Regions from separate parts of the Homo sapiens genome. Here region 1 is linked to region 2. The links are contacts of gene promoters, found by promoter capture Hi-C in human tissues and cell types (Jung and others, 2019). All regions are on one chromosome and are shown on one strand. Each heading gives the region's core, a stretch centred on a gene start or on the middle of the fragment in contact. The rest is flanking DNA. Distances are from core to core; before and after follow the strand shown.

Region 1 (6,257 bases), core at 719-3,218, 1.0 Mb before region 2:
TGTTTCTGAACTTGACATAAATAAAAGCATACTGTACATATTCTTCTGCGACTTGTTTCTTTTAATTTAACATTTTATTTTTGAGATCCATCCATGCTGATGATTGTAGCTGTAGCTCACTAATTTTTATGCCTCGATGATATTTTATTATGAAAATATACCACAGCTTATTGATCCAGTCTGTTGAATGCATTTAGGTTTTTTCCAGTTTTCTGCATTGTAAACAATACTGTTATACACTGTCTTCTACATGTCTCCTGGTACACATATACAAGATTTCTCTAGGATATATACTTAGGAGCGGGAACATTGAATCATAGAGTACCTGAATACGCACATTTAATTTTACTCGGTAATGTCATGCTGTTTTCCAAAAGTGCTGTACAAATTTACATTCTCACTAGCAGGGTATGAGCATTCTCATTGCTCCTCAACCTCATAAACAGTTAATTTCATCACACTTCTTACGTCTGGCAATTTTCGAATGGTCTTTTGTGGTTATAATTTCCCTGATTTGCCATGAGTTTGAACATCTTTTCTTGTGTTTACGGACTACTTATGCCTCATTTTTCTGCTTGGTTGTTTGTCATTCCTACTGATTTGCAAACATTTAAAATATTTTTTGCATTTTAATACTTTGTTAGCATGTAGCAATCATCTCTCAGTTTGAACTTGTCCCTTCACCATTTATAATGCTTTTTGATAAACAGAAGACATTGATTTTAATGTAGTCAATAATTTCCTTTATAACAAATCTTTTATGTCTGGTTTAAGAGCTACCTTAGTTTGAAATCATAAAGGTGTTCTACTATATCGTCTTCCAAAAGTTTTACATTCTTGCCTTTCACATTAGGTCTTTAATTTATCTGGAACTGATTTTTGTTTTTTGCATGAGGTAGGAGTCAATTTAATTTTTTTTATATTGAAACAAATTGTTCCAGCACTATTTTTTTAATGCATTTTTTTCCAACTGACCTTCAACAGCACCTCTGTCATATGTTAAATGGCAATTATGTGTGGGGTTGTTTCTGGACTTTTTATGCTGCTCCATTGGTCTGAGGTTCTGTGCTCCCATCCCTTCTTGAAAAATACCTATTACATTGTATATCTCTTCATTAATTAAAGTCTTCTTTAATATCTTTCAATAATGTTTTGTACTTTTCTCCCTGAAGTCTTGTGTATCTTTGGTAGATTTATTCCTAAGCACATCATATTTTTGATGCTATAATAAATGTCTTTTAAATTTTTTCTGCTTATTATGGATGCCTAGAAATACAATCAATTTTGAATAATGATTTTATTTTAGCATATTTATTTAACTTTTAATTTTAATAATTTATCTTTATGGAAAATCATATCAATTTTGAATAATGACAGATTTGTTATTTCATTCTGAATCCTTAGACCTTTTATTTTTTTCCTTGCTTTCTTGTATGTACTGTATTGAGTATCCAGCATAACCTTGCGTCAAAGTAGATAGAGATAGTACAGAAACTTACTTATGATATTTAAATGGAATGCTTTCAAAATTTCAAAATTGAATATGATGTTTGCTGCAAATTTTTGGGTAGATGTCTAGTATCAGAGTAAGGAAGTTCACTTTAATTCACAGTTTACTATAAATTTTTACTATAAAGGATTGTTGGAGTTTTATCAAATGCTTTTTATGCATTTGTTGAGATAGTCATATGATTTTCTTTCAATAGTTAATGTAGTCAGTTATATTTTTTTCTTCTTTAATTCACTTTGATTTCCGAATAAACCCATTTGGCCATAGTGCGTGCGTGTGTGTGTGTGTGTCTGTGTGTAATTTTAATACTTTGAGGGATTCAGTTCGTTAGTGTTTTATCTGGGATTTTTGCATTTATATTCATGAGTAAGATTGGTCTGCAAATTCCTCCTTTTGAATGTCAGTGTTGAATTTTGGTATCGAGGTTATACTAGCTTTAGAAAATGCGTTGAGTAGTATCTTTTTTTTTTTTTTTGCCATAATCTGATACAGTTTGCGTAAAATTGAAATTGTTTCTTGAATGGTTGTTATCAATAAACTCTCCTGGACCTCATCCTTCGTTTAGGGAAAGATTTTAAACTAATGACTAAATTTCTTTAGGAGTTATAGGACCATTCAGTTTTTGCTTTCTTCTTGAGTCAGTTTAAATAAATTCTATTTTATAGGAATCATTTCAGCTACATTTTCAAGTTTATTGGAATAATGCTCATACATCTCCTAATTATCTTATGTCTCTAGCATTAGAATTTATGCCCCCTTTTAATGTCATACATTTATGTAATATTATCATTTCATAACCATACTATTTTAATTTTCATTTTGGGGTCATCTCTCTTGTTTCTTATTATAAGAAGTTTGTAAATTTTACTAGCTTTTTCAGAGAACCAACTTTTGACTATTAAATATTTTATTTCCTATCCATTAATTTTTATTTCTATTATTTCCTTCCTTCTCTTTTCTTTGGGTTTATTCTGCTCTTCCTATACTAACTTCTTAAGATGTATATAGTTTTCATTACTTATTAGATTTTCTTTTTTTATACTTTGAACATTTAAAGCTATACATTTTCCTCTAAGTTTCCTTTAGCTTCTTTCTTTCACTTATAATGTAAGTTTTGATGTGTAATATTTTATTTGTTATCAGGTCTGAATGTTTCCTGATGTTCATTATGATATCTTCTTTGATCCTTAAGTAATTTAGAAGGACATTTTAAAATTTCCAAACATATAGGGATTTTTCTAATTATGTATTTTTTTGGGTTGCAAATCCATTGTGGTCAGAGAGCTTGATCTGTATGATACTATTTATCTTTTCAGAAACCCAGTCTGTGTGTGATACTATATACATATTTATATATAATATATTATATCTTATAAGATATATAATATATCTTATATAATTATATAATTAATATATATCTTATAAGATATATATTATAAGCTATAATATATAGATATATATTTATACATATATTTTAATTTTTGGAAGCTGCTTTATAGTTTAACATTTGATTAAAATATTCCATGAATGCTTGGGAAAAATGTTTATTTTGAGTCATTGAAGGCCTGGTGTGGTAGCTAACTCCTGTGATCATAGCACTTTGGGAGGCTGAGGCAGGCAGATCACTTGAGGTCTGGAGTTCAAGACCACCTTGCCCAACATGGTGAAACCCTATCTCTACAAAAGTACAAAAAAAATAGCCAGGCATGATGGCATGTGCTTGTAATCGCAGCTACTTGGCAGGCTGAGGCAGGAGAATCGCTTGAACCGTGCCACTGCACTCCAGCCTGGGTGACAGAGTGAGACTCTACCAAAAAAATAAATAAATAAATAAAAAAGAAAAAAAGAAGAAAAAAACAGTGTTGAGTCATTGAGGACAGTTTCATATATACCCATTAGTTTACATTTATTTATTGTGTTGTTTGAATCTTCTATAAAACTACTAGTATTTATGCCTTGTTTCAGTAGTCAGTTTCTGAAAGTGTGTTGAAATCTCTCAATATGTCAGTTTCTCCATGTGGTTCTGTCAATTTTACTTTATATATTTTGGGGCTGTAATTAGGAATAATTACATATATGAATATGTAATTAATATCTCCCAGATGATTAAAATTTTAATAATTAGGTCATGGTTGTCTTTGTGTTCAATAATATTTATTTGTCTATAAATACATTTGTCTACTGGAACTGGCAGGTTTCTTTTGTTTAGTATTTGCTTCGTACATTCTTCTCTACATTTTTACTTTAATATCTTCAATCTTCCTGTATTCTTAAGCTTTACACTTGTCTCTTATAAACAGAATAAAGCAAGATTAAAAAAAAATGGCTTGACTTTGTCTTCCAACTGAAGCAGTTAGTCTATTTATATTTATTATAATTGTAGACATATTTAGATTTGTTTTTACTGCCTTCTATGTTTTATATTTTTTCCACATTTTCTATACCACTTATTTTCTTCTTCCTTGTCCTTTTCTGAATTGATTATATTTTTTCATATTCTATTTTTTTCTCTACTAGTTTGGAAGTTATACCTTTTGTTTCTGTGTTTCAGTGGTATAAAAAATTTTAGCTTGCATGCTTAATTCATTAGTTGCTTTATGGTCTCCCCAATAATATAAGACTTAGAACACTTTAAATTCAATTATGCCTTGTGTGCTATTGTTGTTATGTATTTTCATTCTATCGTGTTTTTTAACCCCGCATAATATTGTGTTTTATGTAGTTAACTTTTTAAATATTTACTGCTTTTTTTTCTCTTTATTCCTTTGCAAACATCTTTAGTGAGGGTGTGCTAATGGAAGATGTTTTCCGTCTTTATTTGTCATAAAAATGTCTTCTTAATTTGTTCTCTTAAAAAGTATAATTTACTGTATATAGATTACCAAGTTAATAATTATTTTCTCAGCATATGTTATTCTACTCCATTCTTGATTACATTGTTATTGGTGAAGTCAGCTGTCAGTCTCACTGTCTTTAAGGTAATCTATCTTTTTTTCTCCGGCTGCTTTTAGTATATCTTTGTCTTTAGATTCTGTGATTTTACTATGATGTACTTAGGTGTGAATTTCTTTTTATTTTTCCTATTTGGGATTTGTAGAAATCTTGAATCTATGGGTTATTTTTTCTCATCAGTTGTGGAAAGTTCTTAGTCATAATCTCCTCAACTATTGCTGCCACCTCCTTCTCACTCCTTTCTTATGTTTTGGAACTCTGTTTAGACATAAGTTAGCCTGTCTTACTCTAATATCATAATCTTTTAAGTGCATTTAAAGCCTACATTTTCCAGCCTTCCTTACATCTTTGTGTGGCCATGTGCATGAACATTTTCAGGCCAAGGCTTTTAGGAAGTAATGTGTCCCCTTTATGCTCTTTCCCCTAATGTTAGCTGAATACAGACAATATGGAGGCCTCAGGCTCAGAGGATGGCAGAGTCTTCAGATGGATGGAGGGAGCTGCAGTCACTGAACCACTGCAGGGAGAGAAGTACTCACAGACCAGGAACGCTCAACTTGGACTGTTATGTGACAGAGTAATAATAAACTTCTATTTTGGTTTGAGTAATGTTGTGTTTTGGGTTTATCTGTTTCTGCAATCTAGCTTACTACCTTAATGAATATAAGCTTTCTTTCCATTAAAAAATTTATTAATGTATAAATCACATACCATACAGTTCACTCACTTAAAGTGTACTATTTAATGGCTTTTGATCTATTTCATTGTTAATTTTTAGAAATTATGTTAAAGTATATATAACACACAATTTTTTATTTTAACTATTTTTAGATGTACAATTCAGTGGCATTAATTACAGTCACAATGTTGGACAACCATCACCACAATTTCCAAAATTTTTCTTAGATGAAAATTCTGAAACCATTATGCAATAACTTCCCATTACCCACTCCTTCCAGCTCCTGGAAATCTTTAATTTACTTTCTGTCTCTATAAATTCAACTATTTTAGATATTTCATGTAAGTGGAATCATGCAATATTTGTCCTTTTGGGCTTGGCTTATTTTACTTAGTATAATGGTTTTAAGATTCATGTTGTAGCATATATCAAAAATTCATTCCTTTTTATTATTGTCTCTCTCTCTGTCCATATATATATATACACATATATATGGGTTATTTCCAACTTTTGGCTATTATGAATAATGCTGCAGTGAACATTGCCCTACAAATATGTGTTTCAGTCCCTGCTTTCAGTTCCCTTGTGTATATAACTAGGAGTGGAATTGCTGGTTCATATGATAATTCTATGTTTAGCTTTTTGAGGAAAAATGTTCTGTTAAATTTTTTTTTTTTTTTTTGAGACGGAATTTTGCTCTTGTTGCCCAGGCTGGAGTGCAATGGTGTGATCTTGGTTCACAGCAACCTCCGCCTCCCGGGTTCAAGCCATTCTCCTGCCTCAGCCTCTGGAGCAGCTGGGATTACAGGCATGCACCACCATGCCTGACTAATTTTGTATTTTTGGTAGAGACGGGGTTTCTCCATGTTGGTCAGGCTGGTCTTGAACTCCCGACCTGAGGTGATTCGCCCGCCTTGGCCTCCTAAAGTGCTGGAATTACAGGCGTGAGCCACCGTGCCCAGCCTCTGTCAAATATTTCTATAGCTGCTGCATCATTTTACATTTCTACCAGCAATGTGTGAGGGTTCCAATTTCACCACATCCTTGTTAACATTGTTATTTTCGGTTTTTAAAACTGTAGCCATTCTAGTAGATGTGTAGCCATTCTAGTAGATG
Region 2 (5,753 bases), core at 58-2,557:
AGCAGGCCCGCCGGGGCATCTGCTTGACTCCAGCGGCGCGCGTCAGCTAGCGGCTTGGATAAAGTCCAGTGCAAGGATCAAACTCCCCCCACTTCCCCACCCCCCGCCTCTCTCCCTTAAAAGCAGGAGGCTCCGGTGTATGCACTCACACTGGCTTGAAATCTCCCTCCCTCCCTCCCTCCATGGTATCTAGCAACCCCCTGCCCAAAACTGGGAAAAGGCTCTCGACAGCTATTAATGTCCTCCTCGAAGTCTACCTTAAGCCCACCTAAATTGGTTTCCTACCATAAACACACTTTACAACGGCCCAGGAAATCTTATAGGATGTATAAACCTCTTCGAATGCTTATAAAGTAGCACATAAAAAGGCGCAAGCAGAGGGAGGCCTCCGCCCCCCCCCCCTCCCCCGCGGCCCCCGGGCCCACCGCTTGCCCAGTACCCGGTGCCTACCTGCGCTGCTGCTCTTCTCGGCCCCCGCCTCTCCCGGGGGGCCCTCGCCGTCGCCACCGCTGCCTTCTGCTGCCCCCTTGGGCTCCGAGCCAGGGGTCGCCTTGGTGCAGGGACTGCCCCCGCCGCCACCAGCCCCGGTCCTGGGGTCGCCCTTGTCGGCTGCGCCCTCGGGCTGTGGCGGCGCGGGTGGCGGCGGGGGCTGCGGCCCGGCGAACGGGGGCCCGGGCGCTGCCTCGTAGAACTGGTCGAAGCCCTGTGGCAAGATGCCATTGCGGCCCACCGCGCTGTAGAAGTTGGAGGCGGCGCCCGCGGGGCCGTGCGGCGGCCCCGGCGCAGCGCACACCGGCTCAGGCGCCTTGAAGAGCACGTCCGGCCGGCGGCCCGCGGGCGGGAGAAGCTCGCGTTGCATGGCCGCCTCCTCGGCCGCCGCGGCCGCCGCAGCCGCCGCCGCCGCCGCCGCGTAGTAGGGAGCGTAGCCCCCCGCGCCGCCGCCGCCCCCGCCGGGGCCGCCCCCGCTGCTGCCGCCCCCCGCGCTGCCGCCGCCGCCGCCGCCGCGGTACGGCCACTTGGCGCGCTCCAGGCCGTAGTCGCGGAAGGCCACTTCGCGCACGGGCTGGACGTGCGGAGCCAGGTTGGAAGAGTAGGGGAAAGTCATCTGGCAGGACGACGGTTGGGAAAGGAACGAAGGCTTGCTAGCGAAGTCAGACGGGGCCACATAGTAGGCGCAGCCCGGCAGGTACATGCTGGCTGCGCTCTGGCCGCACTCGTCAAAGTCGTTCATGACTCCGCGGCGTGCGCGCCAGCGAGCCTCTGGCCGCTCCCCGCGCAGCCAACCTGAGCCATCGATTGCACAAGAGGCTTGGGCCAGGATCAACTAAGCAAAAATCCCCACCGGGCGCTGACGTGCAATTCATCTTGATTGATTCTGGTGGTAATTATGTCACGTGACGCCATGAAGAGAAATGTCCTTATATCTATATCAACGCTCGCCAACACGCCCCGGGACGGCTCCTGGCGCCGAGACGCGCGCGCTGGGGGCGGATCGGCTGCCCTCTGCCGCCAGCTCTCCCCGGGCGCTCCCTGACCAGGCTGCGCCTCAGGCCGGTCACCTGCGCGCCGCTGGCCGCTGTCACCGCTGGGCGCATCTGCCACCGCCCGAACGGGCCGCCCGCCCGCGTCCGCCCTCCCGCGCCGCTTTAAGTACGCGGACCGAGGCCGGCGGGGAGGAGGAAGGAGGGGGAAGAGGGGGAGGAAGGGGGAAGGGAGAGAAGCAGCGAGCAGAGGGGGGGAAGCCCCGGCTCCAGGCTCCCTAGAAGCTAGGAACTAGGTGTGAGGGTGTGAGGTTCCGAACCCCACCCCCCTTACTGCAGCCGCTCCCTCCCCCGCGACTCTGCCACCCTCTGCAGCTCACCCGCCTGGGAGCTTGTTGCTTCTTGTTCACCGGGCGGGAGTAATTTCGCCACTCTCCAGGGCGCAGGGAGCCCTGATTTACATATTTTTCTGCCCAGCGCGTTCAGAGTGGAGTGACTTGGCTCTTTCCGGTTCTGACCCCAAGGGTGCGAGTGCTGGCCTCGGAAAAACCCAGGCCATTCACCACCTAGGCACTCACCCAGGCCGGGGCCTTCGTGCCCACCCGGCTCTCTTCCCTTCTCTCTGGTTTCCCTCTCTGTTCTTGTCTCTCTTTCTCCTTGCCTCGTTTCTCTTCAGTCTTCTCCCTTCTCTCTCCTGTCTTCACTTCTCTCCTTCCTCTTCTTTTCCGCTTTCCTTCTTCCTTCCTCTTGCTTTCCTGTCTCCCTTCTCCTCTCTCTCTCTGTCCTCTCATCCTCTCCCCTCCTTTCCTCTAAGCTGTGTGTCACTGTCTCTGTCTCTCTCCCCGTTGCCTCTCTGCCTTCTCCTTCAGCACTGAAGCCAGGAGGGGGCTCAGCCCGTGGTCCCCAGCCTCCCTAGAATCTGGGGAGTCTGGTGAACAAAAGGATCTGGAGTCCTACTCTTAGGGTGCTTGGCTTCCCGCTGGCTCCCCACAAGAGACAACCCCCACACACTCGCACCTTCGTCCTCCTCACCCCTCTGCTTTCAGGCCTAGCCTGGGTGTCCGCCTTATACCTAGACCCTTCACTGCTTCGGAGCCCCGCCAAGGCCTGCGAATCCACGCCGCGTTTCCCCGAGGCTCTTCTGGTACCCTTGGGTCTGCATGGTCACTTCAGCCCCTCCCCCAAGATAGGTTGTCTCTCTAAGGGCTCTCAGCGGAGCCTGACTCCCTCCTGGAGCCCCTCTGTGTCACCTGGCTCTGAGGCAGACTCTTCGTGGGGCACCCCATCCACTCCCCCAAGGCCTCACTCTCCTCCCAGCCTGCCGCGACCCTCTCCTAGCCCATGGGTCCAGGCAAGGCCTGGGATCCCACCTCCGAGTGAGCAGACGCTTTTCAAAGGTAAACCGTCTCTTCCCAAACCCAAATCCCAGAACCGAGGGCAGGAGGCTGCCCCTTTCCCCAAGATTCCTCCGCCCAGGCAATCCCAGCGCTGGGGCCTGGGCCTCAGTCCTATACCCAGGGCAGGCGGCGCTGGCTGTGATGCTGGTTCCCTCCCTGGCCCGGGCTGCTGCAGTGCCGGTGCTGTGCGCTCTGCCCACCGTGCGGACAGACAGAGAAAAGGCGGGTGGTCTGAGCTAATATCTATTTTCTGGCTGATGTACCCCCCCTTCCTCTTTTTCTCCTCCCTCCCTTTCTCCCTTCCTCTCTCCTTCCTCCGCCCCTTCCCATGTCTTCTTCCCTCCCCCAACACTGCGCAAATAGGTCTGTGGCGACTGGAGGGCATCGAGCCTCCCCCAACTAGAACTGCCCATCTTGTGTGCTCCCTCCCCGCAGCTGGCACCCCCGCCCAGATTCCAGCTGACATTCTTCTCCTCAACCCAGACCCCCAGCACACTTATCTGCCTCCCCATCTCCATCCCAGGCCCAAGCCTCTCCCTTTCGGGCTCGTGGTCGACGCCCCTGGATCTCTCTCCTAAAATGGCTCCCTGGACGCTGCACACTGGCCCTGCGGTAGCTCAGGACCCAGGGCAGCTGCGAGGACTTCAACCCGGGTCTTTATGTGTCTGGGGATTCGCAAAATTCTCGCACCTTCTCTCTACTGGCGGCACGGGGTGGGGTGCAGGCAGCCCGGCGCCCCCAGTATGGAGCCTGCTGACCGCCGAAGAGGGAAAAGGGGAGGACGAACCATTCAAGTTCAACGACATGGCGACGGCAGCTCCGGCGGGAGCAGCGATTTGGCGGGGGAGGGTGAGCCATCTGCAGTGGCGCGCCGGTGCATAGGGGAAGGGGGCGGCCGGCCCCTTTCGGCTCCTTAGCGCGGACCCTTGCCCCCCGACCCACTCCACAACCCAGAGCGCTTTCATTCCAGTCCCAGCCCGCTTGGCTCTTTGGCCCCAGCTCCCTCCTAGTTCCTACCCCCATTCCCCAAACCCAGGGAAAACCGCAGCCTCCGGACCCGCGCGTCCCGCTCGAGAACCTACCGTGAAGACCCCGACTCTGTGGCCTTGTCCTTGCCTGCGCGGCCCCACCCGAAACGCAGGGAGCGCACCAGGCCTTCGGGGCGCAGCCAGCCGCTCCGCGAGAAAGAGCTTTCCGCACAGCGCCAGGACGCGATGCGGTGATTTTGAGTCACCCAAGATAAGACACTAACTTGACCTTAACTTTGTCAGGGCGCCCCTGGTATCTGGAGAACGTGAACAGACACTGTCTGGCAGCTCTCGTAAAAGCTGACTGGGGAAGGGATTCTGAGTCATTTCATTTATTGCCACTACAGTTCTGCAAGAAAGCTTTTCCTCCCTGCCAAACTTTAATTATTTATGCTCTTTTAAGAAACGAAAGAAGAGAAATGCAGGGAAAACACCCAGAGCCAGTTCCTTCCCTACAGAGCCTTCGGAATGGACTTCTTAAGTCAAGCGACTGGAGAACAAAAATATGGGGAGATCACCTTTGTCTAAGGACAGTGGGGCAGTCGCCTTGCCCTCCCCCACTATCACTGAGGGGGGAATGCAGCTGGGAGAGGCGGGTGAAGGGTGAAGGGGCATCCCCCCACATGAATATTTACAACGGTTCCAGATTTCTCTTCCACCCGCCGGCATCCCGGAAGCCTCCTCAGCCCGCCTCCCTGGGGGAGAACCCCCAGGCCTTAAAAGCGTCCCCCCTTCCCCGCCGCCCTCTGAGTTCCCAACTGATTGAATGCCAGATGAAGCTGTTTTTTTCTCGTTTTAAAACTGTTTTCTTGGTCAAGAGGCCCGCTTGGACTGCAGCATTTCAGAGGACACATTTGTCTTTCTGAAGGGAATGTTGAGCACTCAGATTTTAGCGTCCTTTCTCTTCGGCTTTTTTTTTTTTTTTTTTTTTTTAACAAATTTCCTAGTGGTTCCAAATCTCTGCGGGAACCCGGGCTATGGAAGGAGACACCAGAGTCTTTGTATTTGTGTGAAATAGCAAACGGGATAGATTTGGAAAAGACTGCTGAACCAAGAGATACGCTTTTATATTTAGAATAATTTAATTTTCTTTGAGGAGTGATCTCCATGAATATCCCCTCCCCCCACTCATCCCAGGCTAAAGGGAAAGAACACGATGATTTAATGATATATTTTGGAAAGAAACGGCCTCCGTGTTTTCTGTCTTAAGGCCTGGATCTGAGTTCATATGCTTTCCTCCTCCTTTCCCCAGCCTTCCGAGCGCTCAGTGCGGCTTCAGCCTTTGTTCAGTTGTTTTTGAGGAGGCAAACCTCTGAATGCAGACTCAGACTTGGAGATCCTGCTCTGGGTACCATCGCCTCTATGTGCCCAGCCAGGTGGAGAATCCTTTTGAGCCATAGGGCCTTGGCAGCTCTTGCTTCTTTCTCTCCTATTGAATATATATACATATAGGTATATATAGTTGTGTGTGTGTATACAATTAAAGAACAATTAAAAATTTCAATTATACACCAAATTTGCTTCTGGGAAAGGGAGTTGAAATGTTGAATATTCAGTGTTAGTGATTTAGTGGTTTTGCTAATTCTTCCTCTAGCTAAAAGCTAGTTTCCACCTCCACCAGCTAGGAGCTTGTTTTTGCAAGAAAATGAGTAGCAAGCAGGCCCTGAATTTCCTGGACTAAGCTAGAGGTTCAGATGGACTAGGGAGTTTTGAGGCCCCATTTCCCAAGGGAGTCTGCTGGGCGCCTGGTAAACCTGCTGGTATCAAGGATTTAGCAGGACATAGCCGGTTCCAGAGAAGTCAGACCAAAATTCGGTGGAGACAGACGTTTTGTTTTGACATCTGAA

The links. Contacts are between HindIII fragments. The study calls those that stand out against the background at their distance.
Region 1: a fragment that was not itself captured here is called in contact with the fragment with the promoter of HOXD11 in region 2 in 1 of the 25 tissues and cell types used here (lymphoblastoid cells).

The regions. Positions count from the first base shown.
Region 1 is chr2:177,110,411-177,116,667 of GRCh38, reverse strand. All of the region lies in intron 1 of LOC105373760 (a long non-coding RNA gene), which reads left to right. Among named protein-coding and RNA genes, the nearest start is that of MIR4444-1, 99 kb to the left of the region's middle. The HindIII fragment of the contact is 4,980 bases long and covers 1-4,458 here.
Region 2 is chr2:176,102,834-176,108,586 of GRCh38, reverse strand. HOXD11 (homeobox D11) reads right to left here and starts at 1,307. Exons shown (of 2, transcript NM_021192.3): 1 at 451-1,307. The coding sequence starts at 1,231. RefSeq lists an enhancer at 3,451-4,437. The HindIII fragment of the contact is 4,264 bases long and covers 765-5,028 here.